Regions from separate parts of the Homo sapiens genome. Here region 1 is linked to region 2. Evidence: promoter capture Hi-C in 16 types of primary human blood cells and fetal thymus (Javierre and others, 2016). All regions are on one chromosome and are shown on one strand. Each heading gives the region's core, a stretch centred on a gene start or on the middle of the fragment in contact. The rest is flanking DNA. Distances are from core to core; before and after follow the strand shown. Region 1 holds the start of UBFD1 (ubiquitin family domain containing 1). Region 2 holds the start of LCMT1 (leucine carboxyl methyltransferase 1).

Region 1 (6,688 bases), core at 3,685-6,184, 1.6 Mb before region 2:
AAAACAGTTGTCAGTTCACAATCAAGTACAGAAACTGAGAGTAAAGGTTTAGAAACTTTTGTTGTTGTTTTGAGATGGAGTCTCACTCTGTCACCCGGGCTGCAGTGCGGTGGCACGATCTCGGCTCACTGCAACCTCTTTCTCCTGGGTTCAAACGATTTTCAGCCTCCTGAGTAGCTGGGATTACAGGCCTGGGCCACATGCCCGGCTAATTTTTGTATTTTAGTAGAGACAAGGTTTTGCCATATTGGCCAGGCGAAACTTACATAGCAATCTGGCAGAATGATTTTACCTCTGCTAACCCAAATAAAATGAGATTGGTTTGTATTTTGGATGTTTTCAAAATTTTATTTTTCTGGTCATTATATTAATTTTGTGCAAATATTGATACACAATTGATTGGAAATTTAAAACCAGCACTTCCACAACAGATGGTTTGAAAGGCACTGCTCTAGGCTATACTGCCTGCCAGAAAGATCCTGTCATGTATAGCTGGGATTTTACTACAAAGATCTTTGTATGTTCATCCTGGGATTTGGGATGAGAGGCATACTCCGTGTAGAGAACGTAGAAGGTAGCCTTACTGGTGGGAACCAAAAGGCCCTGACGAGATCTCCAACAGGCTATACAATGGGCCTCTGTCACCCTCTAGCTTGCTAAGCTCCCAACAGCACTAGCACAGTGCCTTGGTACCTGCGATTTCCTCTACCCAGAAGGTTCCTTCTTTTTTGTTTTTGAGACACAGTTTCGCTCTTGTTGCCCAGGCTGGAGTGCAATGGCGCGATCTTGGCTCACCGCAATCTCCACCTCCTGCGTTCAAGCGATTCTCCTGCCTCAGCCTCCCAAGTAGCTGGGATTACAGGCATGCGCCACCATGCCCAGATAATTTTGTATTTTTAGTAGAGACAGGGCTTCACCATGTTGGTCAGACGGCTCTCAAGTGATCCACTTGACCTCAAGTGATGCACCCACCTCTGCCTCCCAAAGTGCTGGGATTACAAGCGTGAGCCACCGCGCCTGGCCTCCAGAAGGTTCCTTCTATAGGCTTCACATAGCGTGCTCCTTCTTGTCATTTGGATCTCAGCTCAAATGTTACCTGCTCAGTAAAGCCTTCTGGAGCGTCCTTCTTAATCCCCAGTCTCCTATCCTGTTTCACTTCCCGCATGGCACATGTGACTCTAAAATTACACTTATTTTTTATAAGTGTCTGCGGCAGCCACTAGAATGCAGACTTCCACAGAGCAAGGCCCCTACCTTTCTCAATGATCACTGTATCCCAGCGTCTACAACACCTGTTACACAGGTTGTCATCAATGCACATGTATGGAATGCATGAAAAAAAGATCGAAAGAGATGGGATGGCACAAAAAACACAAGAAACTCCTGGCAATTTGAATTATTTCCGCTCCTGCACCTCAGTTTCCGCCTCTGTAAAATGGGCTCGCGCTGCCTTAACCCTCCTCCGCCCGCCCACTCTGACACCACCGGAAAGGATTCATTCGGGAACATTCGTGGGGCGGAGACGGGACAGGGGGCCTCGGCCTGTAGCGTCACGTCCGCCAGGGTTACCTGTGGGGCTGGGAGCGAACCGCACTCGCACCGCAACCCCGGCATCAGTGCCCAGGTTGGCCTCGCGCCGTCCTACGGGGCGGCCAGAGGCCGCCGAAGGCCTCTCGCGCTGCAGCAGTCTCCTCAGGAGCGCCGCCATGTGGGATGGAATAGCACACGTGGGCTTCTCCCTGCGTCACTTCCGGGGACTGCTTCCAGCCAATCGGCCTCCGCCACAGCCAGCGCAGCCTTGCCCCTTAAAGTCACAGGCCCCCTAGCGCGAAATCCCACGCCCCCCTGGACGGCTGCGGCCGCACTCGCCACCAGGGGGCAGAGGCCAGAGAAAGGGCTATTTCCCGGACCCGCCCCCTTCAGCTTGGGAAAGCGAAAGCGTGGCAGGGGCCGGACCTGGGAGCGGAGGAGGCGGGTCTCCATAGAAACCTCCACCTGTTTCCGGCCGGGCTGTGAGAGATTAGGGGCTGCTGCGGGGGCCAATCTCAGCCAGCTCGCCTCTTCCCAGCGGCCTCTGCGGGAGCGGTGGGTGTTGTACACAATCATCATGGCGGCGGCCGGGGCCCCGGATGGTGAGTGCGGCGGGGGTGGCGGGCGCCGGGCCGGGGCTGAGGTTGCGGTCGCTCCTCTGGGGGATGCGGCCCGGCCCGGGAGGGAGAACCGCGGCTCGGGAACGGAGGTCCGGCGGCGCCCGGACAGCGTCCGTTCCCAAGCCCAGCCCGCGGCGAGCGCCCACCCCCTAACCCCCTTGCAGGCATGGAGGAACCTGGCATGGACACGGAGGCCGAGACTGTGGCTACTGAGGCTCCCGCGCGGCCCGTCAACTGCCTGGAGGCTGAAGCCGCGGCGGGGGCGGCGGCCGAGGACTCCGGCGCCGCACGAGGCAGCCTGCAGCCGGCCCCGGCCCAGCCCCCTGGGGACCCCGCAGCCCAGGCCTCGGTCAGCAACGGCGAAGACGCGGGCGGCGGCGCGGGCAGGGAGCTGGTGGACTTGAAGATCATCTGGAATAAGACCAAGCATGACGTGAAGTTCCCCCTGGACAGCACAGGCTCCGAGCTGAAACAGAAGATCCACTCGATTACAGGTAATTCCTGTGGCGCTGACAGCCAGTCTTCCCCACCCCGCCTCCTGATGGCCCTTGCACCCTACTAGGCACCTGGTGGCTTTCCTTGCATCAGGTCCCCCCATCCTTACAGCAGTCTTCTGAAGGATACTTGGATGCCCATTACTCAGCTGGGGAAAGAGACTCAAGTTTATAGAGCTAGTAAGTTGCAGAGCTGGGATTAAAGCCGAAGTCTGACGTTTAGGCCCCAGTTTCTCATTGATGTTGCTCTAACATCTCTAATTAAAAAATCACCTAAGGCGCTTGTTTTACAGCTTCTGGGCCCTTTCCCAGGAGATTCTGATTCAGTGGGTCTGGGATGTAGCCAGGAATTTATTTTTAGCAAATATCTTAGGTAATTCTTCTAAGTGAAGTTTAGGAAACGCTGCTATTGACTTTGATGCTGGTTCTTCACAGTCGATTCTGTTTCTTAATTTTACCTTGTTCATAGCTCTTTGCCATCTGAGATTTCTTTTCTTTTTCCTATTTTTTTTTTTTTTTGAGACGGAGTCTTGCTCTGTTGCCCAGGCTGGAGTGTACTGGCACCATCTTGGCTCACTGCAGCCTCCGCCTCCCAGGTTCAAGCGATTCTCCTGCCTCAGCCTCCCGAGTAGCTGGGATTACAGGTGCCCGCTACCCCGCCGGGCTAGTTTTTTTTATTTTATCCACCCACCTCGGCCTCCCGAAGTGCTGGGATTACAGGCATAAGCCATCACTCCTGGCCTTGAACTTTTTTTTTTTTTTAAAGCTTTCTACATGTAGCCTTGTAATCTCCATTAAGAACAGGAGTTTTGTCCCTATTGGCTTCTGTAGCTCTGATGCCTGTGGATTCTCACTTAATATGTGAATGATTTAGATGACTGAGGAACAACTTGGAAAGAATGAGAGCTAGTACTTACTGAACAATTATTCAATGCTAGCCACCGTACTAAATGCCCCGCATTGGTCTCTTAATCCTTGAAACAGGTCTGTACAGAAGGACTTACTCTAATAAATCTTCTACAGTTCTAGAAACTGAGGTTCAGAGGTTGTAAATCTCCCAAGTTCACAAAGCTAATAGGTGGTGGAGGCAGTATTCACTTTTTGGTCTGTTACCAAAGAGCTGTGTAGTATCCATACATTTTTCTGTCCTTCCTTCCTTTCACTGTCCACCTTCTACCTTTTCCCAAGGTCTCCCGCCTGCCATGCAGAAAGTCATGTATAAGGGACTCGTCCCCGAGGATAAAACATTGAGAGAAATAAAAGTGACCAGTGGGGCCAAGATCATGGTGGTTGGCTCCACCATCAATGATGTTTTAGCAGTAAACACACCCAAAGATGCTGCGCAGCAGGATGCAAAGGCCGAAGAGAACAAGAAGGAGCCTCTCTGCAGGCAGAAAGTGAGTCCATCTTGTGCTTCTTGGTCTTGAGAAATTTGAGGCTTTGTCCTCTTGAGCCGTGGCTGGTTATATTCTCCCTAGAATAAGCTCCTTTTTGGACAGGGCCCATGATGGAAATTTATGGCAGCAGTTGGGTGCCGCAGAGTGGAGGTGACAACTACCTGAGATTTGCAACTTTGTCTCATCTGGCGGGTCAGTGTGTCTCAAGTCTACCTACTTTAGGATAAGACCTTGGTAAAGGGAGGCTTCAGACCATGTGTTGAAAGGAATCAGACGTGGGTTTCTCTCTCTTATTTAGTGCCAGAGAAAACTACCAGTACTAGAAGTAAGCCCTCATTTTGTACAAGTGCTTACATTTGGCTTTTTGGTTTGTGGCTTTCCCCAAGTCAACAAGCCTGGCTAGGCATGGAAATCAACAACTCTCGGAGGTTCCCCTAAAGCTGACCGTTTCAGGAAGCTAAATGAAGCTGAGTAGGAAGACAACTACACTGATGGATTTGTTTATTTATTTTTTTGTCCTGATCTGTGAAATAGGAGCTTGGTTTTTTACGTTCTCTGTTCTTTTGGCTGCAAGAGATCCTGCCTTGTCTTGTGCTCATCATAGCCATTAACATTCTTTCACGTAACGAGGAAAAGTGAGATTATTTTACTATGGAAGGAACAGGTTGTAAGAATCATTACTTGTTATCTTTTTACCTGGCAAATTATACTGATTGCTGTGTAGCCTCCTGATCGTTCTTCCTAGTGTTCCAAGGAAGACAGGTATTCTCAACTGTGTCTGAAGTAGAGTAGATAAACTTCAATCAACATCATTTAGTGACCATAGACACTAAGATATATGACCAACAGTAAGAAAAGGACACAGTTTGTGTTACAGATCCATAATCCCCCATGTGTGCTTCCAAAACCCCAAAGGAGTATAAAAACGAGAAGTGTTTTTATAAATTTAACAGCAAAACCTGACCAGAATTAGTGTGAATTTTCCTCTTTGGTGACAAGGTACTGCCCCAGACCCCACAGAGAAGATTGTTATGTATTTGAAAGCAATATTATCTTTATAAAAATTCCAAAACCCTGAAAGTTCAAAACTCTAGGGTTTCAGATAAGGGGTTATAAACCTATATTAATTATCTAAAAGGTGTTGATTTGGAGACTTCACCCCCACATATGGGGTCTCAGTGTCTTGAAACCGATTGAGTTTCTTCTCATATTCCTGTTTTTCTTTGCCACATGTATGAAATAGTGAAATGTGAGCACGTCAGATAGGAGTGGTCGCAATGGTCACACCCTTGGAGCATAACATGCCTCCTAAATACAGGTTTTTAGTTACTAATGGTAGCTTAACAGGCTTAGAACTGTTCTCCACAGTACAGGAAATCTTGTTCAAAAGGTACTTGAAAGGTGTGACTCGAATTGTACTTCCAGCCCATGCTGCTGTGTTTCATTGAGGCCAATTATGATGCATCACATGACCTAATGAGAGGGATATAGTCCCTTGCCTTTTTACCAGCTTATTAAGGGGTCTGGGGGTGATGTCTGGAGTGACTTTTTGCTAGCAGTCTGGCAGTGCTGAGTTTATTCCTCCCAGAGGGATTCCACCATGCCAGTGAGGATTTGGGCTGGCTTGTGGCTGCCTAGTGCTTACATTTGATTAAATTGTTACCTTCTATCCATTCATTGTCCCCTAGTTCCAGCCTTCCAAGCAGTGGCTATGCCTATAAGGCCACAGATGGAGAAGAAAGAAGACTCAGGCATTTGGGCCAGGCAGGAGAACTGTTTAAGGGGCCCTGAACTTAGAATCCTTGAAGAGCTGCCTCAGAGTTCTTGGGGCAGGTGGTAGGGGTGGAGTTTAGAGGCTTCTTAATGTCAGGTTATAGAGTAATAAGCATTTCTTTCTGAAAGGTGGCTCTTCCAGGTTCCTGTTTAGCTGGAGTTAAGGGTAGGGCAGTGGGGAAAACTTCGGCGATGGGCTGGGTCTCCATTTGTTGAAGAACTGCTCCTCCTAGGCAGTTAGACGGATTACCAGCATCTTATAGTGTTCTCTGGAAGTTTAAGTTGAAAAAGGTGGGTGCCATTTTTTGTCTGCTAGGAGAGCAACACCCTTTGTCGCCCTCTTTAGTTTGATGGTTTAATCATTTCAGTGGTGATTTTTTTTTTTTTTTTTGAGGGGAGGAGGGCAATCTGGAAATCCCGTTTGCTGTAGAACTTTGATATCTAATATGGTAGCTATCCACATGTGGCTGGTTAAAATGAAATTAAGAATTCAGTTCCTCAGTCATAGTAGCTGCATTTCAAGTGTGTAATAGTCACAGCAGTAGGTAGTGGCTAGCACAGGTACGAACATATTCGCCCTCCCAGAAAGTTCTGCTGGACAGCACTGTGCTATAGTTTCAAAGGATCCATAGTCTGTCGTCATTAAAAGCTTTTGAGCCAAAACACTAAGGCTTTCTTCATCCTCTCTTTCAAGGGAATAGTAACACGACGAAATGTAGTCAGCTGTTTCATTTCATTCTCTCTTCTGACTTATAGCAACACAGGAAAGTGTTGGATAAAGGAAAACCTGAAGATGTGATGCCATCTGTTAAGGGGGCCCAGGTAAGGCGGATTTCTTTGTGAGCATTCTGAAAATGAGGCAGCCCCACCGTCT
Region 2 (6,315 bases), core at 1,662-4,161:
GCTCTTGTTGCCCAGGCTGGAGTACAATAGCGCAATCTCGGCTCACCACAACCCCTGCCTTCAGGGTTCAGGCAATTCTCCTGCCTCAGCCTCCGGAGTAGCTGGGATTACAGGCATGCGCCATCATGCCTGGCTAATTTTTATTTTTAGTAGAGATGGGGTTTCACCATGTTGGTCAGGCTGGTCTCGAACTTCTGACCTCAGGTGATCCACTTGCCCCGGCCTCCCAAAGTACTGGGATTACAGGCATGAGCCACCATGCCAGCTTTTTGTTTGTTTTTTGAGACGGAGTTTTGCTCTTGTCCCCTAAGCTGGAGTTCAATGGCACGATCTCAGCTCACTGCAACCTCCACCTCCCGGGTTCAAGTGATTCTCCTGCCTCAACCTCCCTAGTAGCTGAGATTATAGGCGCCTGCCACCATGCCTGGCTAATTTTTGTATTTTTAGTAGAGACGAGGTTTCACCATGTTGGCCAGGCTGATCTCAAACTCTTGACCTCAGGTGATCCACCCACCTCGGACTCCCAAAGTGCTGGGATTACAGGTGTGAGCCACCGCGCCCAGCCCACTCTAGCTATTTTTTATAGAAGAAAGAGATACTGGAGAGCCAAAGCAACAATTGTCCATTGTAGCCTTTTGGGGAGAGATTCCATGGTGAATGCCTAACTTTTGGCCCACAATATTAATGTCCAAGAGCTTTTACACTTCCACAACTCTTCTCCTGACTTTGTCAAAAGATGCAGTCTAGTTGGCAGTGAACTTTCTCTGGCTGGGATATGGCTCAAAGACTACCCCAGCATTGTCTCTTGCATTAAGGTATCATTTAGCCTGAGATGGCTAAGCTTGCAATCTCCAGACTCCACGCTGTCATAAACTTTCAGATCCTCAACCAGGAACTTACATGGAATGAGCTGGCCCTGGAGGTCAGCTGGAAGATGGCCAAATTCCTCTGAATCACCAGCTATTTTGAATCAAAGGCTCATCCAACAACAAAAGTGTATAAACCCATCTGCCTCCGCCTTCTTCCAGTCACCCCCAGTCTCACTGTCCAGACCTGTGGGATTAACACCGTATAGTACTTGCTGTTAACACTTACTATCCACTAACACCCGTGGAATGTGGACACTGCTAAGCTGGGAGATGATGCTTGTGCAATAGTTTGTATTACCCTTTTGGCAAAGGACCACTCCAAGAAAATGGTGTATTTCATCCCATCAGCATTCCCCCTGGCAAAGCTCTCCACCCTTAGTCATTCCCCTCTTGTCATTTCTACTGTGGCTATCAATGAGATCTTGTGCCTCCATTAGAATACTGAGCTAGCATTTGATATTTGACCTCACTCCAAGGTGTGTATTCTGGGTTTCTGTTGTTGATTTTCTTTTTAAAAAAATGAGTGCAATTCAAAGTTCTTAAAGTATATCTGTTTCCTGCTTCCAACAACTGACAGATAACAAAATGGAATATACAAAGACATTTTTAATTTATAATGTATATTAAACATTATTATACATATACAACTTACAAGGGTTGCTTCTGGCTGGATTCTCTGCCAATCGCCCGAACACTGAGGATTCTGCTAGTTGTTCTGCCCTGAGTTAATTATAGCTATAAAATTTCATCACCAGCAAGAAACCAGGCGACTTCCCCAGTACATCTTGAATTTATACATATATTTTGTACTAGATTTAGTACAAAATAAATCCAAAACATCTTGAATATGCCTCATAATGAAACAGACACACGTGAACCCACTCCCACGTGAGAAACTGAGGATGTGTCTATGTGCTCCTTCCCTGCCTCTCCCTCCCCCTCTTGTGTGCTACCCTCCCGGCTCCCTAAAGATCACCAATATCCTGATTCTTTTTTATTTTTTTTTCTCATGTCTTGCCTTCTCTGTACAGTATTTTACCATATATGTACGTTTCTCTAAACAACATTAGTTTTACTTGGTTTGAACTTTACAAAAGTGTTGTTAGACTTCCTTCTTTCACTGAACATCGTGTTTCTGAGATTCAGCCATTGATGCTGCTACCTGGTAGCTCTAGTTCATTTATGATCGCTGCTACATGGCTTCCTATTGTATTACTTTTCCACACACTACTTCCCTCACTACATTTCTTTTCTTTCTTTCTTTTATTTATTTGTTTATTTATTTTTTTGAGACGGAGTCTCGCTCTGTCGCTCAGGACGGAATGCAGTGGCGCCACATGGGCTTACTGCAACCTCCGCCTCCCGGGTTCAAGCGATTCTCCTGCCTCAGCCTCCTGAGTAGCCAGGACTAAGGCGGCCGCCACCACGCCCGGCTAATTTTTGTACTTTTAGTAACAACGGTGTTTCACCATGTTGGCCAGGCTGGTCTCGAACTCCTGACCTCAGGTGATCGGCCCGCCTCGGCTTCCCACAGTGGTGGGATTACAGGAGTGAGCCACTACGCCCGCCCCCCTCACTACATTTCGAAGGCAATTTTGGGGGCAAAGCCCTCAGCACAGTCGCTGGCAGAGTCAGCACACAACAAAATTTTGTAAAATTGAATGACACTGAGCCCGGACTGAATGTAACAACTTACACATGTTGCTTCTGGCTGGATTCTCTGCCCTTTGCCCGAACGCTGAGGATTCTGCTAGCTGTTCCGCCCTGAGTTAATTATAGCTATAAAATTTCGCGACCAGCAAGCAGAAACCGGGCGACTTCTCCAGACACCTAAGACTACGCTTCCCAGAAAGGATTGCGATACTCTCCTACTGTTTAGTTTCTTTTTCCTATCGTCAAATTTCCGGGTTATGTGGGCGGTGCCAAAATAATTATCCAATGAGCAACTTCGTAGGCTGAGCGGGCAGGAGAATTGCTCAATGAGCGACTCGGAAGAGGAGCCAATAAGCGGAGAGGTTGCTGGGGTAGCCGGCGTGGGCGGCGTCACTGAGCCGCGCCAGCTGAGCCAGGTAGGGCCCTACCCTCTTCTGTTGCTTTCTCCCTGTGGCTCGCGCCGTCCCCCGCCGCCCGTCGACCCCGCTTCCATGTCCCTGGCGGACACAGCTCCCAGGAACCTCCACGCCCATGGCCACTAGGCAGAGGGAATCCTCTATCACCTCCTGCTGTTCCACCTCGAGCTGCGACGCAGACGACGAGGGCGTGCGCGGCACCTGCGAAGATGCTTCCCTGTGCAAGAGGTGCCTGTCGGGCGCGGGGTTCGGGGCCGGCATCTGGGGCGCGGGCCTAGGTGGGAGGTGGGCCTGCATCTGAAGAATACGCTCAAGGCTGGCAGGGATGCAGCCCCCGCCTCGCACGACCCTCGCTTCCCACCTGTGAAGTGCACGGAGCAGGGCTTCATTTATTTAACGAATCGTTTCTGAGCTTTTGCTGTGAGCCAGGCAGGGGGCCAGCCTGGGTATCGTCGATGGGAGCAGGCCCCTGAGCCAGACAGACGAGGCCTTGGGCTTCTTGGAGCTAAACGCTGCTGGAAAGACAGACATGAAGCAAATAGTAGCTCCAGCCTCGATGGGTTACGAGGATGAGAGGTGTAGGTTCTCTCTCTTTTGTAGGTTGCATTCTTTAGGGGGTTGGTGTGATCCCTGTTGTGCACCTGAAACTCAGGATGACGAGGGGAAATAACCCACCCAGAGCCAAGTAATATCTCTTTGCAGAGCCAGTACCGCACTAAGTCTCCACTGTTAAGGGTGTGGTGGTGGGGATGGGGGCGTAGCCAGCAGAGGTACGTGTCAGAGAAAGAGAAAGCTTGAGGCTTGAATGTCCACCATTTATTCTTTCATTCAACAAAATTTTTTGAGACCTTACTTTGTGCCAGGCCTTTACTTTGCAGTGGTTAGTAGGAATTCGATGGTGGAAATACACCAAGAACAAGACAGACATGGTGTCAGACATACTGGAACTCACAGCTTTGTTGGAAAAGAGAGACAGGAAGCAAATAATTACCTATGAAATATATAATTATGATTTTTTTGTGTTGAGTGCTGACAAATACGGCAGTGCCATTAGAGTTTGTAATTTTGTCAGTGATGTTTAAGGTGAGAAGAGTTTGGGCGCGGTGGTTCACGCCTGTAATCCCAGCACTTTGGGAGGCCGAGGTGGGCAGATCACGAGGTCAGGAGTTCGAGACCATCCTGGCCAACATGGTGAAACCCCATCTCTACTAAAAATACAAATATTAGCTGGGTGTGGTGGCGGGCGCCTGTAATCCCAGCTACTCGGGAGGCTGAGGCCGGAGAATCATTTGAACCCGGGAGGCAGAGGTTGCAGTGAGCCAAGATCACGCTATTGCACTCCAACCTGGATGAGAGTGCGAGACTATGTCTCAAAAAAAAAAAAAAAAAAAAGTGAGAAGAAAAGGCTTGAAAAATAGGAAAGTTGTAGGAGAGTGTTCAGAGGAGTGTGAACTGTTAGAGGAACTCAAAAAATGCTTTAAAGGTGGGAGAAGGAGGCTGAGGCCACGTAGTGATTGTAGAGTGGGGAAAACCAGTGTGTTGGATTAAACCTTGCACTTTTTATAGGTTCTTGGGGACTAAACTTTCAGAGCATGGATTCTGGAGCTAGACTCTGTCAAACTGAGCGTTGCCACTTACTGGCAGTATAAAGTCGGGGAAATTACTAAACTTTTCTGTGGCTCAGTTTCCTGATCTGTAAAATGGGGAGTATAATAACGCATCATAGGTGGGTGTGGACAAAAATGATATTTAATATTAGTAGAGCACTTGGAGCAGTGTCTGGCATGTAGTCCATGTAAGTGGTGATTGATTAAATTAATAAATACACAAGTATTAAAGTCTTAGAGAGAGTCCCTTATGAAATTTGTGAATTTGAGTGGATTATACTCAGCTTTTTCTTCTGTGGCTTTCAGTTGCTATTGGCCACAGCTGTCTTGGCTCCTGGTAACTTCCACCTGCCGGGTTCAAGTGATTCTCCTGCCTCAACCTTCCAAGTAGCTGGGATCACAGGCACACACCACCATGCCCAGCTAATTTTTGCATTTTTAGTGGAGACAGGGCTTCACCACGTTGGCCAGGCTAGTTTCGAACTCCTGAACTCAAGTGATCCGCTCGCCTTGGTCTCCCAAAGTGCTGGGATTACAGGCATGAGCCACCCCACCCAGCCTAGTCTTTTCATTTTTAAAACAGTGATAATAAAGGTAACCTTTATGGGTGTCAGGATTAAATGAGATTATCGATGCAGAGGATCTGACACAAAGTGAAGCCCTCAGTAAATTATTATTGCTAGTTTTGACTTCCCTCCAGGCTGAATATTGTTTAGTTAAAGTTGCTGAATGTGCAGTAGCTATGAGTTAGGGTGGTTCCTGCTGCCCTGAGTGAGTTATGGCTATAAAATAAAAAGCCAGTCAGCCTTCTGGGTACCTGTAAATCTTTTACTTCTGTTTAGTTTGCTTCTTCCTTTGGTATAGAGTCCTTCTGCGGATAAGTAGGATGTTATCTGTCTCAGAGGATTGCTGTGCAGGTGAAATGTGGAGTGCTTGCAGCAGTGCTTGGCATACTGGAGGTGTTCAGAATTGGTAGTTAACAGTCATCACCACCCCCCTCATTGTCATCAAATCATTATCATCATTGTGATCCTGGACTTGTGGTATCAGAAGTTTTCTGGTTGGATATATTAGGTTTACACTAACTCCATTTGACTCAATAGGTATCAATTGAGCACTTTTCATGGTAGCCCACTCTCCTTCCCTTCTCTGCTCTCCTTATGATGTCCATCATGCTATGCCACTGAGTCTGTTCTCCCCTCTTTTGTTTACCTGTGACCCAACCATCCCACCAACCCCTCACTATGTCCTCTGCAGTTACCACCTGATAATCAACATCAGCTTCTATTTTGTTAGCCTCTCCTTAGCCATTCCCTCCCTCCCTTTGCCTTCACCCTGACCTTTCCTCAGGGATATCCTGTTCTTGAAGCCCTCTCCCGTGGCTCCTCCTCCTTCTCATGCCCTGTGTATCTCAGGATCAGGGATTTGAGCTTTGTGTCCTCCTGTGTGTCTCCCGCGTCTCATTCCATGGAGAGCCTTCCTGCCCAACTGGAGCCCTCCTGATTGCTGTTGTTCAGCTCTCCTGATCATTCACCTCATTCATGGAAGACTGGGGTGCCTGGCCCAGAGTGTCCTCTACCTCAGTTCATGACTTCACCTTAGGTGACCTCAGCATCCACATGGAGCCTATGCACGAGGCACTCACTTTCTTGAACACCTGGTCTGCAGTGATCACCTCTTCCTATCTGATTCTGTCACCCATTCCCACCGTGACACCCTGTGCTTTTATCCTGATGCTGCACTGCCTCACAGATGAGAGTGCAACACTCT

What was found. Contacts are between HindIII fragments. The CHiCAGO score rates a contact against its expected background, and 5 or more counts as called.
Region 1: a fragment that was not itself captured here is called in contact with the fragment with the promoter of LCMT1 in region 2 in 1 of 17 cell types (naive CD8 T cells); the score reaches 6.0 in naive CD8 T cells.

The regions. Positions count from the first base shown.
Region 1 is chr16:23,555,636-23,562,323 of GRCh38, forward strand. It overlaps UBFD1 (ubiquitin family domain containing 1), which reads left to right and starts at 2,092. Exons shown (of 7, transcript NM_019116.3): 1 at 2,092-2,132; 2 at 2,315-2,644; 3 at 3,833-4,041; 4 at 6,571-6,636. The coding sequence starts at 2,108. It overlaps EARS2 (glutamyl-tRNA synthetase 2, mitochondrial), which reads right to left and starts at 1,715. Exons shown (of 9, transcript NM_001083614.2): 1 at 1,570-1,715. The coding sequence starts at 1,708. RefSeq lists enhancers at 400-1,044, 1,405-1,684, 1,689-2,333, 1,875-2,074, 2,334-2,977 and silencers at 2,145-2,234, 2,335-2,514. The HindIII fragment of the contact is 3,053 bases long and covers 3,409-6,461 here.
Region 2 is chr16:25,108,831-25,115,145 of GRCh38, forward strand. It overlaps LCMT1 (leucine carboxyl methyltransferase 1), which reads left to right and starts at 2,912. Exons shown (of 11, transcript NM_016309.3): 1 at 2,912-3,166. The coding sequence starts at 3,054. LCMT1-AS1 (LCMT1 antisense RNA 1) reads right to left here and starts at 2,725. Exons shown (of 3, transcript NR_120306.1): 1 at 2,566-2,725. RefSeq lists enhancers at 2,335-2,862, 2,640-2,969, 3,060-3,219. The HindIII fragment of the contact is 2,890 bases long and covers 840-3,729 here.